5 separate regions of the Homo sapiens genome follow, and regions 1, 3, 4 and 5 are each linked to region 2. Evidence: promoter capture Hi-C in 16 types of primary human blood cells and fetal thymus (Javierre and others, 2016). All regions are on one chromosome and are shown on one strand. The core of a region is centred on a gene start or on the middle of the fragment in contact, and the rest is flanking DNA. Distances in the headings are between cores, read along the strand shown.

What was found. Contacts are between HindIII fragments. The CHiCAGO score rates a contact against its expected background, and 5 or more counts as called.
Region 1: a contact is called between a fragment that was not itself captured here and the fragment with the promoter of DNAJC2 in region 2, in 5 of 17 cell types (naive CD8 T cells, naive CD4 T cells, fetal thymus and 2 more). The highest score is 8.5, in naive CD8 T cells.
Region 3: a fragment that was not itself captured here is called in contact with the fragment with the promoter of DNAJC2 in region 2 in 2 of 17 cell types (naive CD8 T cells and activated CD4 T cells); the score reaches 5.5 in naive CD8 T cells.
Region 4: a contact is called between a fragment that was not itself captured here and the fragment with the promoter of DNAJC2 in region 2, in 7 of 17 cell types (naive CD8 T cells, erythroblasts, endothelial precursors and 4 more). The highest score is 7.1, in naive CD8 T cells.
Region 5: a fragment that was not itself captured here is called in contact with the fragment with the promoter of DNAJC2 in region 2 in 1 of 17 cell types (fetal thymus); the score reaches 6.2 in fetal thymus.

The regions. Positions count from the first base shown.
Region 1 is chr7:104,153,734-104,156,433 of GRCh38, reverse strand. The region is part of intron 12 of ORC5 (origin recognition complex subunit 5); the gene reads left to right. Among named protein-coding and RNA genes, the nearest start is that of ORC5, 53 kb to the left of the region's middle. The HindIII fragment of the contact is 9,851 bases long and covers 1-2,700 here.
Region 2 is chr7:103,343,388-103,346,194 of GRCh38, reverse strand. It overlaps DNAJC2 (DnaJ heat shock protein family (Hsp40) member C2), which reads left to right and starts at 1,428. Exons shown (of 17, transcript NM_014377.3): 1 at 1,428-1,636. The coding sequence starts at 1,573. It also overlaps a transcript of PMPCB not described here. RefSeq lists an enhancer at 1,246-1,485. The HindIII fragment of the contact is 5,590 bases long and covers 1-2,013 here.
Region 3 is chr7:104,169,597-104,172,296 of GRCh38, reverse strand. All of the region lies in intron 8 of ORC5 (origin recognition complex subunit 5), which reads left to right. Among named protein-coding and RNA genes, the nearest start is that of ORC5, 37 kb to the left of the region's middle. The HindIII fragment of the contact is 2,228 bases long and covers 160-2,387 here.
Region 4 is chr7:104,186,260-104,189,164 of GRCh38, reverse strand. ORC5 (origin recognition complex subunit 5) reads left to right here. Exons shown (of 14, transcript NM_002553.4): 6 at 784-914. Among named protein-coding and RNA genes, the nearest start is that of ORC5, 20 kb to the left of the region's middle. The HindIII fragment of the contact is 539 bases long and covers 1,366-1,904 here.
Region 5 is chr7:102,748,058-102,750,757 of GRCh38, reverse strand. FAM185A (family with sequence similarity 185 member A) reads right to left here and starts at 1,759. Exons shown (of 8, transcript NM_001145268.2): 1 at 1,100-1,759. The coding sequence starts at 1,550. It also overlaps the pseudogene RASA4DP. RefSeq lists silencers at 1,770-1,939, 1,980-2,069 and an enhancer at 1,742-2,036. The HindIII fragment of the contact is 1,652 bases long and covers 579-2,230 here.

The DNA of each region.
Region 1 (2,700 bases), core at 169-2,668, 810 kb before region 2:
TACTAGCAGCAATATTGTATTGTAGTTGGCATTATTCTGAATTTCTTCATTCTCTATTGAATTTTAAATAAAATTCTATTCATTAGTCTCACAAGTAAGTGAAGAGAATAGTAGCACATTTAACATTTTATGTTAATGTTCAGATTTATTGAACTTAAATATGACTTTAAATTTTTTTTTAGATTATTATTTTAGTCTTACCTGGTTTTTACCTTTAGTACAATTTTGCAGTCATTATCTTGGGTCATTTTTAAAATTTTCATTCCAGTAAGATAAATGTAGCCCTTCTATGTATGCCTGAACTTCATGGGTGACAAAGCATTAATTCTGGTATTTCATTCTTTTCTCCTTTCCTTTCTGCTCTCATCATAAGATAGAATGGAATACATGCAGTAAATGGGTAAAGTTTATAGGTATTCTTTCTAAATTTTTAATTTGATCAGTTATGATTTTGAAGACCATTTGTCAGCTTTTAAAGAAATAGTATTGTCTTTTTTTCCAGAAATATATTAAAGCCAAGTTATGCTTTTTAATTCTTTTTTTCTTAAAAGAAAAAAATATGGGAATTTCCGAATTATCTGTTTCATTCTTTTTATAGTTCTATGTCTCCTCTTACTCATTCTTACCTCCCCTACCCAAATACTCTTGTAGTTAGGTCAGAGCAATAGGAGTACAGTTCTTTAAGATTATCAGAGATACCACTTATTTTAAAATCTCAAAGCCATATTGCTTTATTTTTTTCCCAGAGAATAAAATTGCTGGAGAGTTTATTTCTAAAATCATTGGTATAGGTTTCTAAAGTGACTTGTAAAAGGAATATGTTTTAATTTTCATTGATCTGCTTCGATCAATTTGCATTTTGGAAAATAATTTTTGAAAGTAGTTTACTATAATTCTGCCATTTAAAAGGTTTTATTTTAATAATATTACTATATTATAAAATAATGTATTCTGAATTAATACCAAGAAACAGCTGAAAGATTAGAAAAGGAGCATAGTTCTTTTTAAAAAATAGTTCTGTGTACCATATTGACAAGTTGGATTTTTCCATAATTAATACCTAATTTCTGAGTGGTTTCATACTTAGTTGTACATAATAAAAAATTTAGAGTGTTTTTGCAAATTTATTTTCATTTATAAGAACATAAACATTTTGTAGCATAGTTTAATATACAAATATATACCTTTTCTGTTTGTACCTTCTCTGCTTATGAACTCATGTCATGATACTATGGATACACTTGGAGTTATTTGTTACATCGATTTAACTTATTGGTCATGAATCAACAATCGTTTCTTACGGAGGTTTTATTTATTGTAATAGCATTTAGACAACCTTACTACTCATTTAGGTGTTGTTTTATAAGATATGTAGGATATATCCAAACCAATTGTTTTTCTCAAATGAATTTATCATCAGTCAGAAAGCAGAATGATAATTTAGTTGTTTCATCTATGAAAATTTTTTTTTTAGCAAATACTTCATCTGTAATTCACCATAGCTGTAGGAAGATGTTTTTGCTATACTGTACTTGTTAAGGTAGCTAACGTTTTATTACACCAAAAATAGATTTTGGCATATTTCTTCAAATACAGGTAGATATGTGGTAAATTTATATAGTTTTCAGTTTTCTAAAGAGGAGACGTTGTTAATTTTTATTTAATTCTAAAACGTTTATAAATAAAAATATTTTAATCTAATTCACATTTCAAGTTCAAAGTCAGTGTTTATTTTTTTTCCATGGTTGGAATTAAATTTATCTTTCTCTGCTTAAAATTTCATTTAACAAATATTTACTAAGTGTCTACTATGTTTCAGGCATTGTCTTGGATAAAGAGAATACAGAAATGAAGATGTGTCTGTGGATTCCACAGCCCTTCATTTGTGCTGGTGCAGCCACCAGATTCTATTTTATATGTTTAGAGTTAATGGTGTATATATGTATTTACTGTGAAGACATATATGTGCTGAAGGAACTAATACTTAAATACTTAAAGTGAATACTAATAAGTACTTAAAGTGAATAAATAAGAGTTTTTTACTTAAGTAGTTCTTAATATTTTATAACTTAGATATTTAAGTGTTTTCTACTGAGTCATAACAAACCTGTTTGTTGAATATTTCCTTCTGACATGCCTTGAACTTAGTGTTTGAAGCAATGATTGATATTTATAACTAAATTTTGTTAATACCCAATTAAATTTAGTTATGACATTGGTGTCAGACAATCTCAAGACTTGGAACTTAAGTTATGGAGAAGTAATCAGTATATTGTATATGGCCTAGTATATACAGTCTGAGTGGCTTTTCTTAAAAAGTTACATGGCTATATTTGAAATACTTCATAATGGAAAATTATACTCATGTCCTTTTTTAATATACATTATTTCAAACTGCTTTTATAGATTTTTAACCAAAAGCACTTTAAATAAATTTTATGAAGACTTTATGATAAAATTTCTTTACCTTAAAAGTTAATTTGCATATTACATAATATTTATATTTCTACAAAAAGTAGCTACATTCATTAAACGCTAGTCAGATAACACTAGAAATCTAGTAGATAAAAATATCTAATCCATTTATTGATCAGGTAACAATTTGAATTTTGTAGACATAAAGAGTAACATCCTAAAATCTAGCTGTAAGATATTTATATAAATTGATTTGAGTGTGGGCATTATCTTTATAGACATTAA
Region 2 (2,807 bases), core at 179-2,678:
GGCCACTGCACTCCAGCCTGGGCGACAGAGCAAGCCTCTGTCTCAGAAAAGAAAACAACAAAAAAACAAAAACCCATGTTAGAGTTAATGGTAAAATTGAATGGGAGGAGGTGTGAGGAAAAAAATATATTAATATGAAGAAAGTGGAGTCAGGTTACTTTGCACCTTGGAGCATGTTTTAACAGTGGTTGCATTAGTAGGGATCAGGAAGAGGTTTTGGGGCAGAAGATTAGTTCAATTTTTTTTTTTTTAAAGACGGGGTCTCACTGTTACCCAGGCTGGAGCGCAATGGTGTGATCTCAGCTCACTGCAACCTCCACCTCCCGGCCTCAACGATCTTCCCACCTCAGCCTCCCTTAGTTCAATTTTTGAAAAGTCAGTTTTGAAGTGACAATTTTATCATGCAGCAGATATACAGACCAATTAAATGTATTTAATTGGCCTGGCACAGTGACTCACGCCTCTAATCCCAGAGTTTTGGGAGACTGAGGCAGGAGGATCCCTTGAGGCCAGGAGTTCAAGACCACCTTGGGCAACATAGTGAGACCCTGTCTCTACAAAAAAAAATATACATATATATATATATAATATATTTAAAAACTTTAATTGTGAAAATATAATGAAATTAGTAAGTTATTTTCTAATTTACTAATTTCTGGTGGTCCTTGCTAAAGAGTGGCATATCAAGTTTATTTTATTGAACCTGTTTCAGATACTGCTGTTGGGGGTGAGCCTTTACCCACTGTTTGTTTTTGCTAGTTTTTGCTTTTGACTGCAGTCTTAGAAGGAAGCATATAGTAGGAATACAATTGATTTTATTATACATTAAAAAATTAAGTCCCAGAGTCCTATAATTGGGAATATCTTGAATAAAAACTTCATTAGAACAAGGTAAAAATATTGCTGGCCTTGGAATACAATCTAACACACTAGAGAGAGGTTTCTTCTCCAAGCGAGTATTAAAAGATATAATGCAGGTAAATTAGTAATAGCACGACAAATATTAGCTGCTATTATCATCATCAAGTTAAACACAAATGTATCACAAATACACGTACGTAATTCTCCGCAAATGTATATACTAGTCGTCGATACTGGTTCATACAGGTATTTTCATTTTTTACTTAAAAGTATAGCGCTCCTGGGAAAATCACTGATTAGGTTCAGATTAATACATAAAGCAGTAAGAACTTAAAGATAATATAAAAAGAACTGCTTTTAAAGGTTATGTTCTATGTATTGCACTGGGACGTGGAATATAATCCTTTTTACAGGAAAACTGATGCGCCTAGGAACCATTCTCTCGTGCGACTTGGTCTCCAGCCGGATCTCAGTCAGTATAGAACTAGGTTACCGCACACGTTGGCGGGGGTGGGAGGGTGTGAGACTGGCCTCCACACCACGAAAGATCCATCCCGGAAGTGCTTACTGGTCGTCTCCATGCGCCGGTTCCTGGGCGTCTTAGAGCCAAGGCGCGAGGCTCGGAGTGAGAGGTAGAGCTGGAGGGGACCCTAAGCGCCCTCCGCCCGGGACGTGAGCCGCTGCGCCCACCGGGCTAGACCCGGCGCCATCATGCTGCTTCTGCCAAGCGCCGCGGACGGCCGGGGCACCGCCATCACCCACGCTCTGACCTCTGGTAAGTGCCCACCCAACCTCGGTTCCTTCTCACCTCAGCTGCCCCTGCCTCAGTCCTCCGCCTCGGCAACCCTGGGCTCTCTCTACCCTTGACCCTGGCGACTAGCCCCGGGGCCGTATGGGGCCGTGACGAGTGCCTTTTTGCTCCGTGTTTTAAAGTAATCCTACCCTAGATTAGAAGGAAGGAGGGTGAGGGGTGCCTTCCTTTTGCTCCTACCGTTGCTTCCTCCTCTCGCCGCTGCTGACTCATGGATTGGGCTGAGCATTTCGGGACGGAACCCCCCAGCACCCCAGAAAGGTTCTCATAAGCATCTCCTTGCCTACGGTGGAAAGACTACGCGCAGCGAGCACCCCACGTGCCTGGGGTCGTACAAAGCTTTGCTACTGGCGCTCTCTTAAACAACTTTCTCCCTCTCTACGTTTGCTCCGGCCTTGTTTTTTAAATGTCACAACTCAGACACCGCTCCTCATACTCGGTGTTCAAAGACTGTGCTGCTGAAAAGATCCGCGTAGACTTTGAAAGGCAGTTATTACAAGTGAAACTTGTCCTGCTGCTGTAGGTTTTAGTTTTATGGCCCAGGACAGTCATGAGTATTGTAAACTTAAGAGTCTTCAGGTCCAGTGATCTACAGTAATTCCCATAGCCAGTCACATAGGCGCTTGTTGAATGTGATTTTGAACATAACCCATGGCACGTGTTGCATTTATGTGTCTCCGTGTGCCTCTTACAACTAGAGCAAAAGGCTTAAAAGGCAGTGTTCTTAAAAGCCACACACCCATACTACACAGGTAGTACCTTTTTGACAGTGTTTTAATCCTCTCCTGTGTAAGGTGGAGGAAATCTTAAAATAAGTTGTTCAGGGATTTTCCTTTTTTGAATTGCTAGTATACACATGTACAGTGATTTACCCCCACTTCCCAGGAATAGATGATACCTTTACTACAAGTTTGTAATTTCAGAGAGTTTCTGTGGTCTCATTCAAGCTTCCTAGGAACTGAATGAGATAAATAGGTATTGTTCCCATTTTACAGGTGAAGACATCCTGATTCATTTCAGGTCACATAGCCACTGTCAGACCTAGTCTAAAACCCAGAGTGTCTGGTTTCAGATTGAGAGCTTGTTCCACTACAGCTTAGCTGCATTAGTAAATTCCCATTTGCTGCTTGGAAAA
Region 3 (2,700 bases), core at 24-2,523, 830 kb before region 2:
AAAATGATTCTTACATAATAATGAAAGGACTTCTAGTCCCATAGGATAATTATGGCCACCTAAATTCAATTGTGTCCACAATATCAATAAAGAGAGCTAATAGAACCACCCATAACTCTTGCCTGCTGTATTAACAGGAGTTAGAGATTGCTACAAGCTTCATTTTATATACCAGTAGTGAAGTAAACAACTGAAACCAACAGGGCCAGCTCTGGAGCTCATGCTGAGGTGAAAAGTCAAACAAAGACTGAAAGGAAAAGAGAAGATTGTTGGGACAAGGGATACGTTGACTAGTAGTGGTGAAATACAAATGAAATTACTTGAAGAAAGAGAGTTCAACCCTGAGTGAGAAAGTATTGAACAGTTCTGAGGCTGGAAGGATTAGAGCACTGGCTACTGGAGAATCAAAGTGACATTTTGTTTTTTGTTTTTTTGTTTTTTTGAGACAGGGTCCCATTGTCTCGTCCAGGCTGGAGTGCAGTGGCAAGATCACAGCTCATAGCAGCCTCAACCTCCCTAGGTCCAGGTGATCCTACCACCTGAGCCTCCCGAGTAGCTGGGACTATAGGCATGCGCCACCACACCTGTCTAATTTTTTGTATTTTTTTTGTTTTAAGAGTATGGGGGCCAGAGTTAGCATGATAGTCTTGGGAAAGTACTGTTTTGAGGAGAGACAAGTAGTTGATTCAGAAGGGTGTGGTATTCCTTTGAGAGTTGGTAATGAAGGAAAAGAATGGAAAGAAAGGATAGAAATTAAAGATTCCTCTCATCCCCCAAATAAAAAAGAAATGACAAAATCAGAAGCTAATCCCTCCTTTTCATAATAGCACCATATATTAAAGAAACTTGACTTCATTATTTTTCCAGAAGGGAGCACTTTAGAATTAAGTAATTGTGCCATTCCGCAACCTTACCCCTGCATTCATAAAGTCACCTGTTATTACTGACCAAGCCAAACATTAGGTATTTCAAAATGAATAAAAGACAACATGGAAAAGCCATGTAAAGGTATTATTTAGGAAGAAACAGAAAATGTGAATAAAACAGTTTAGTTGATGAACATTTCCCCCTTAACACCCAAAACAAAGCAGAGGAAGACTGCAATACCACACCTTTACTTGGTTTAGGTTTGTTTAAAAAGCATTTTCAGGTATGGAAAGCATTCTTTAAGTTTGAAATTCAATAACTTAGAATAAATGGACAAAGAACAGGGGGATGTGAAATAAAAGTTGATCAAACTCAGGAGCAAAGTTCAGGCAATAGTAGTTATCTCAGAAATGAAAATGAAAAAATAAGATATCCAAAGGAAAGTAGATTCAACTGAGAATATAGTAAGAGACATTGAGGAAAGGACTGAAAATAATCAAGAGAACAAAACTAAAAAAAGAGGTAAAAATAATCAGGTAGGATGTGACAAATATGATAGACAAAGAAGATTTAACATATATTTAATTGGAGCTCCTGAAGACAGAAAAGAACAATGGATTGGAGTTAAGATCTAAAATTATAATCCAAGAAAACGTTCCAGAAATAGAAGACCTAGCTTTACACATTAAAACAGTTCATTTTCCCAATTAATCCAGAATGATCAATTCTGAAACTGTACTAGTATATTGTACTGTAACAAATTATCAGAAATTTAGTGATTTAGGACAACACATAGTTACTGTCTTACAGTTTTGTATGTCAGAAGTCTAAAACAGGTCCACAGGGCTTTTCTTCTGGAGGTTCTCAAGGAGAATCTATTTCTTTGCCTTTTCTAACTTCTAGAGGCTGCCTTCATTCCCTGGCTTGTGGTTCCATTCTCCATCTTCTAAGCTAGCAGTGTAGCATTTTCTCTTCTCTCTGACTTGTCTTCCTCTTAGAAGGATCCTTCTGACTCTATTGGGCCTATCTGGATAATGCAGTGTAATGTCTATCTGAAGATCCTTAACTCAGTCACATCTGCTAAGTCCCTTTTACCCCATAAGAATGTATTCACATGTTCTAGGGATTTGGACTTTGGTATCTTTGGAGGCAGAGCCATTATTCAGCCTACTACAGAGACTTCTTGGAAAGCATTTAGACTTTAAAAATAACAGAAAAAAACCTCTGAGCTTTCAGGCAAAAAATAAAAGTCACTTACAAAGGAAAGTCAGTGAAAAAGTGAAACAAATGGATCAACAATTTCAAGAAACTCAAGGAGAAAGGAAGTGTAAGCCAAATAATTTTATGTTCAGTCAAACCTGTCATTGAACTATCAAGGCTAGAGAAAAACAATATTAAACATGGAAGAACTCAGAGAACACTACTCATAAGACATTTCTTAGGACGACCTTGATGTGAAAAAGAGATGACTGGAGAAACTAACAAAAGGATTGATGATGAACATTGAATTTAATTAAGCTTAGCTCCAAACTAAAATTAAGGTGGAAATAAGAGTAGAAGAATAGTATGTAAATATTATGTATTCTGACAAGGTAGGAATATTACAACTTAAAAATTGGGAAAAGAAGGAAAAGAGAAAGGGGAAAATTAAACTTGTTGATTGCTATACAGGTGAGAGATGGGCATCAAAGAATACTTCAAAAGCTAAAACTACTTTTTTTAAAGTATACTCAAAGAAGGCCCACACTCATCCTTATCACTTCCACCCTGTTCTTCATGCAGATTTTGGATATTTAATTGTTCTAATCTGGCATTATTTTTAAATTAGCCCTG
Region 4 (2,905 bases), core at 386-2,885, 840 kb before region 2:
ATGTGACAATACAGGGCTCTAATCACTTGGTTGGTTCCTCTGACAACCAGTCCCCATCCTGAAGCTATCTAGGGGCCCGCTGTATTAGTCCATTCTCACACTGCTATAAACATACCTGAGACTGGGTAATTTATAAATTTATAAAGAAAAGGTTTAATAGACTCACAGTCTGTGGGCTGTACAGGCTTCTGCTTCTGGGGAGGCCTCAGGAAACTTGGAATCATGGTGGAAGGTGAAGGGGAAGCAAACACATCTTCACATGGCCAGCAGGAGAGAGAGCATGAAGGGGGAAGTGCTGCACACTTTGAAACAACCAGATCTCATGAGAACTCTATCACAAGAACAGCTAGGGGGAAGTCTGCCTCATGATTCAATCACCTCCCACGAGGCCCCTCCTCCACTGAAAATTTCAAATGAGATATGGGTGGGGACACAGAGCCAAACCATATCACCCATCAAGAAACACCTCATTAGTATAAATTGAGGTATGTTTTAAAAGGACTTATTATGAGTAACAAAAGATACTCCTCTTATCCTTCTCATTCAGGGAATTATGAGGGTTTTTAGAAGCTCTGTGCCAGGAACTGCAGTGAAGATCAAATATATATTTTTTATTATATCACAAATCACACTTTTGTATTCTAATCTTGTAATAGTTTTATTATTCCTTAATTGTTGCTGGGTCTGGGTGTTTTTTTTTTAATACCTTTGTTATAAAATGCTTGAAGATATGATTAGTGTACTATGTTAATCATTATAAGTTATTTTGTGTCCTGTGAACAGGCAACCTTCAAAAGATCCTGTCCCATGATCATCCTCCAGAGTATTCAGCTGATTTCTATGCTGCCTACATTAACATTCTTCTTGGAGTTTTCTACACTGTTTGTCGAGATTTGAAAGAGCTCAGACATCTGGTAAATGAACATTTTGCTTGAATATATATATATGTGTGTGTGTGTGTGTGTGTGTATACATATATGTGTATATATGTATTTTAATGTTTTCCATGTAGAAATGGTATGAGATAGGTTAGAAACTGAAATTTTATTCTGGGAATTTGCATATGGCCTCTAGAGACTAACATACCATAAGAAGGTAGATGTCTGTGGGTTAGTACAAACTTTGATTGTTTGATCTGATCAGAAAAATGTCATTCTCAGATCTTCTTACTCTTCCTTGTTTTTTCTCTAATTGCAGAAAATGCAGAACTCCATAAAAATCAAAATGAGGAATAACAGAAAAGAGATGTAAAAACTTGAGCAGTTTTACAACTCTGTTAATATTTTGTAACAGATTTTGTTCAAGTTTTATGTATGCGGTGATTGAGGTCTAGAATCTAGATGGATTTGAGTATGGTCAGAAGCTTTCATTGCAGGTCTTTCATTAACCACTGACCCTGAGCTGGTAATCTTTGTATAGATGGTTCTTTTTAATTTTTTTTTTTTAACAATTAGAATAGCTGTTTATATTTCATAGACAGTTTGGAAAATGTTGATGTTTAATTTTTCTTTGACCTTTTTTGTTTTAATTGTAGGGATGGGAAAGGAAAGAGACAAGAATTTCTGTTTTCCCTTTTAGAAATCTTCAATTAATTAAGATCTTATCTCCATTTAACAGAAAATAGTAATATATCTGAGGCTGGAAAACAGTCACTTTCAAAGTAACAGATTCTATGTCTCTTAGCACATTTTCTTCACTTTGTTCTTTTTCTGTTTTTGCCCTGAAAAGTATTACTTAGTTTCAGTGTGTGTTTGCGACAGAACACAGAAGGCAATCATTTAAAATTATGCTCACATTTAGTATGTTTTTGAAAGTTTCAGATTTCAGGGCTCCTCTGATTTACATGTAGATTTCAGACATCTTCTCAGCTGGGAAAAAACAAAACAGTTTTTCCAGTTCAAGCTTATCACTAACATTCCTCTAGAAGTTGGATGTCTTGGGATCCCTGGCTTCTGAGGGAAATGATAACACAAGAGACTTACAGAGAGGAGAGGGTCAGGAAAACGCACCTGAGTGAGATGGACTTAGGAGCAGATAATCCTCCTCGGTCTTTCCTGGAAAGTAACTTGCAGTTACCACTCTTTAGCACTCGAATCCTGTGGGAATCTGTGCTGACAGCCATTTCAAAGTAGATTATAAAGTACAAGAAGGAAAAATTTAGGGAAAATATTTATGGGAAAATAAAATGTAAAGAGAGAAATATATATTTAAATGTGGTATTTTTTAAAGTTCTTCGAGTTTCACTGTGGAATGATTTTATTTAGGGTGAGGTTACAGCTTTTTAAAAAATAATATTCATAAATGTGTAGTATGGTTTAAGTCTTATACTACTATTGGTAATAATAGAGAAAAGGATCCTTAAACATTAGAGAAAAATAGCACAATGTTCTTAGTTTTCTCTATATATAGAACATGGAAGAATAAAGATATTCATTTTCTTTTTTTTCTTCAGATAGTGTTGTTTGTGTTTGTTTCAAAGTTTGTAAGTGGCATATTTCTTGAAAGTTTATTAAATCACCTGAAAAATATTCTTTTCAGGGATCTTTTCTGGAAAGATGCTTTATGAATTGATATTTCTGTATTTTTCAGAGGCTAGTTCTATAGGTAGCTTAAGATAGGAGAAAATGAAGTACTACTTTGATATTCATTTAGGTTTGTTTTCTCTAACAAACCTTATGATACTGCCTTTTTAACTGTTATTCATAAATTATTAAACATATTTTAGTGTTTCAACCAAAGAGAAAATCAATACAGTTGCCCCTTGGTATACTTGGGGGATTGGTTCCAGGACCAGTCCCATATATATCAAAATCCTAGCACACTCAAACCCTGCGATCAACTCCGCAGAACCTGAGTGTAAAAAAGTTAGCCCTCCATATACATGGGTTTTGTATTCCCTGAGTAC
Region 5 (2,700 bases), core at 155-2,654, 600 kb after region 2:
ATATTTAATTTGGAATTAACATAAATATTGATGATTTCTCTTAAAGTAGGCAAGACCCGCCCCCCCACTTGATTCCTGAAACCACAAATAGTACCAAATCCTATATATTCTATGTTTTTTCCTGTATACATATCAATGATCAAGTTTAATTTATAAACTAGGCATAGTAAGAGATGAACAATAATAACAAATACAGCAATTATAACAATATACTGTAATAAAAGTTATATTACTGTGATCTGTCAAAATATCTTAATATTTTCCTACAACAGCTGAGGCAGGTAACAAACTGAGACAGCCAAACGGTGGATAAGGGAGGACTACGGCATCTACTATTTGGGCAACTCTAAGCATTATAAAAGATGATCTTAAAAATGCTAAATGCTATTATTATTACTATCATCATCATCATCAATATCTTCCATCAGTCCCAGGAAGAATGACAGTCTGGGGAGCCCTTCCTAGAAAAGTGTGTGTACACAGTGGCTTGCCATTTAGGAAAAGCTAAGAAAGGTATCTTGCAGGCATTATTATTGAAGCTTCCTAGGCAGGCTTACCATGTGTTTTTCTTCAAAGCTTGCTACTCATGGAAAACTTAGGCCAAAAAGAATGGAAATATAACAGTAAGAAGCTGGGCGCCCGTCTAAAACCAAATACTCAAACCAGGTGATACCCGGAACATCCTATTGACAGGGCTGTTTTGGGACAGACCCCCAGGCTGTGAGCAAGATGAAATGTAGATGGACTGCCATACCATTGAATGAATTGTCAAGAAACTTCAACCTTGAAAAATAAGCCAGTTTGCTAATGACAACGGGATAAAGGAGAACACAAGCGGCTCCAGAAATAGAATTTGACCTGGATTATACCAAATCATGTTTCCATTCGATGTATAAAATTTCTATAATTGGGAACCTAATTTTTAAATACTACTCGGACACTCAAGAACAGAACAGAGGAAAAGGTGCATTTCCGAAGGGGCCAACTGTAAATTAGGTTTAGAGAGCCAGGACCAATTAAAAGTGCACGTCGACCACATTTATTAAGTTCACTGTGCGTTCCCTGGGACCCAAACCCGTTTTCACTTCACTTCACTTGCCAAACTTCAGGGGCGCGTTCACCTCCACGGACGCCTGGGGGTGGATAGTATCAGACACAATGGCCATCTCCTCCAGATCCTCGTCGTACTTCACCTGCAGGCCGTCCAGGCCCCGCACGCCGCCCTCCACGCCGCACACCGCGACCAGCACGCGGTCGCCATCCGGGTAGGTGAGGGGGTCCAGGGGCCTCACGGCCAGGTGGCACGGGAGCCGCGCCCGCAGCCGACCAAACGGGCTCACCTGCAGTGTCCACTCCTTCAGAGTTCGGCGCCCCGGGCCAGGCGGAGGGACCTCAGTCTCCGATCCGGGCCAGCGCTCGCTCCCACCTGAGCTGTACGGCCTGGCTTGGCAAGCCCAGCAAGCCCAGCGCCCAGCGCCAGCCCACAGTCGGACCTGACGGAGACAGAGACGGAAGCAGCCAAGCTCCCAACCTGAGCAGGGGGCAAGCATGGCGCGCCTCTCTCGCCAGTCCTCAGAACACTTCAGCCACAGGGAGGGTCACTTGCCACGGCCAATCGACTTGGCCACTGTGCCGCCTCAAGTCAAATAGGAGACGTAAGTCAGGGTTTGCTGAAACAAGAGCGAGCCGGTTGGCTTGACTAGGCGTTCTAAACATCAGCCGCGCAATCCCCAGGGGCAAGTTGGGATTTGAAAGCTCTAAACTCTGACCTGGACCCCTTGCCTAAGTCCACCCCCTTTCGCTAAGGCCGACGGGATAGGTAGTTCTAAGTCGCAGAGCTCTGCCTCTTAGAAACCACATTTCCCAGGAGGCAATGCGCAGGGGAGCACGGGTAAGAGGGTAGGTGTTAGAATCGCTGGAAAGGCGGGCGCCCTTTGTCTCAAGACCATTGGCTATTGGAGGGGCGGTACATGGGAGTCCACTGGCCAATGGGAAGCACGGAAGGGGCAACGCGGGTAAAGCTGCGTGGTCACCTTGGATACCAAGCACGCGACTTCTTGGTTGGAGAGGGTGGAGCTTTGGAGTGAGACCCAGGACGCCAAATCCCAAAGAGAAAAATAGGAGCCTAAATAAGGATCAGGACCAAGGGAAGGGGTAAGAAACTGCGCTTTTTAAGATGACAACTAGGTGCAAACTAGGAGTAACCTCTGTGGATGTCAACATCCAAGCTTCACTAACTTAGTGAGGGCATCTCCAGGGCATGGAGAATGCCTTGGTAAGAAAGTAAAGAGCAAGATTGGTGCTTTTTGAGGGAATTGCCTCTTTGGAAGTGTATTCCCTCCTATATTCCAAATATAGGAATAGAGTACTTGCTCCGTCCTGACCCTAAGTGACCTTACTTTGGGTTTTAATTTGCTCACTTTAAAAATGTAGATAATAATACCTTCCTTGCCTTGCCTCAAAGGGTTTTTGTAAGGATCAAGTAAGAAAATGGATGGGACCGTGGTGCACAGTCTACAAAATTACCGTGTAAAGAACTGTATTTTTATTTCAACGTACTTAACATTGATTCTGAGTTACCAAGAAAATTATGAGAGATCAGAACTTGTTTTGAGAATAGCATTGATCTCTTTGACTACAAATGATCCTCAGTTTTAGAGTGAAAAAAAAAAAAAAGACACAAAAAAGAGAGTCACCATG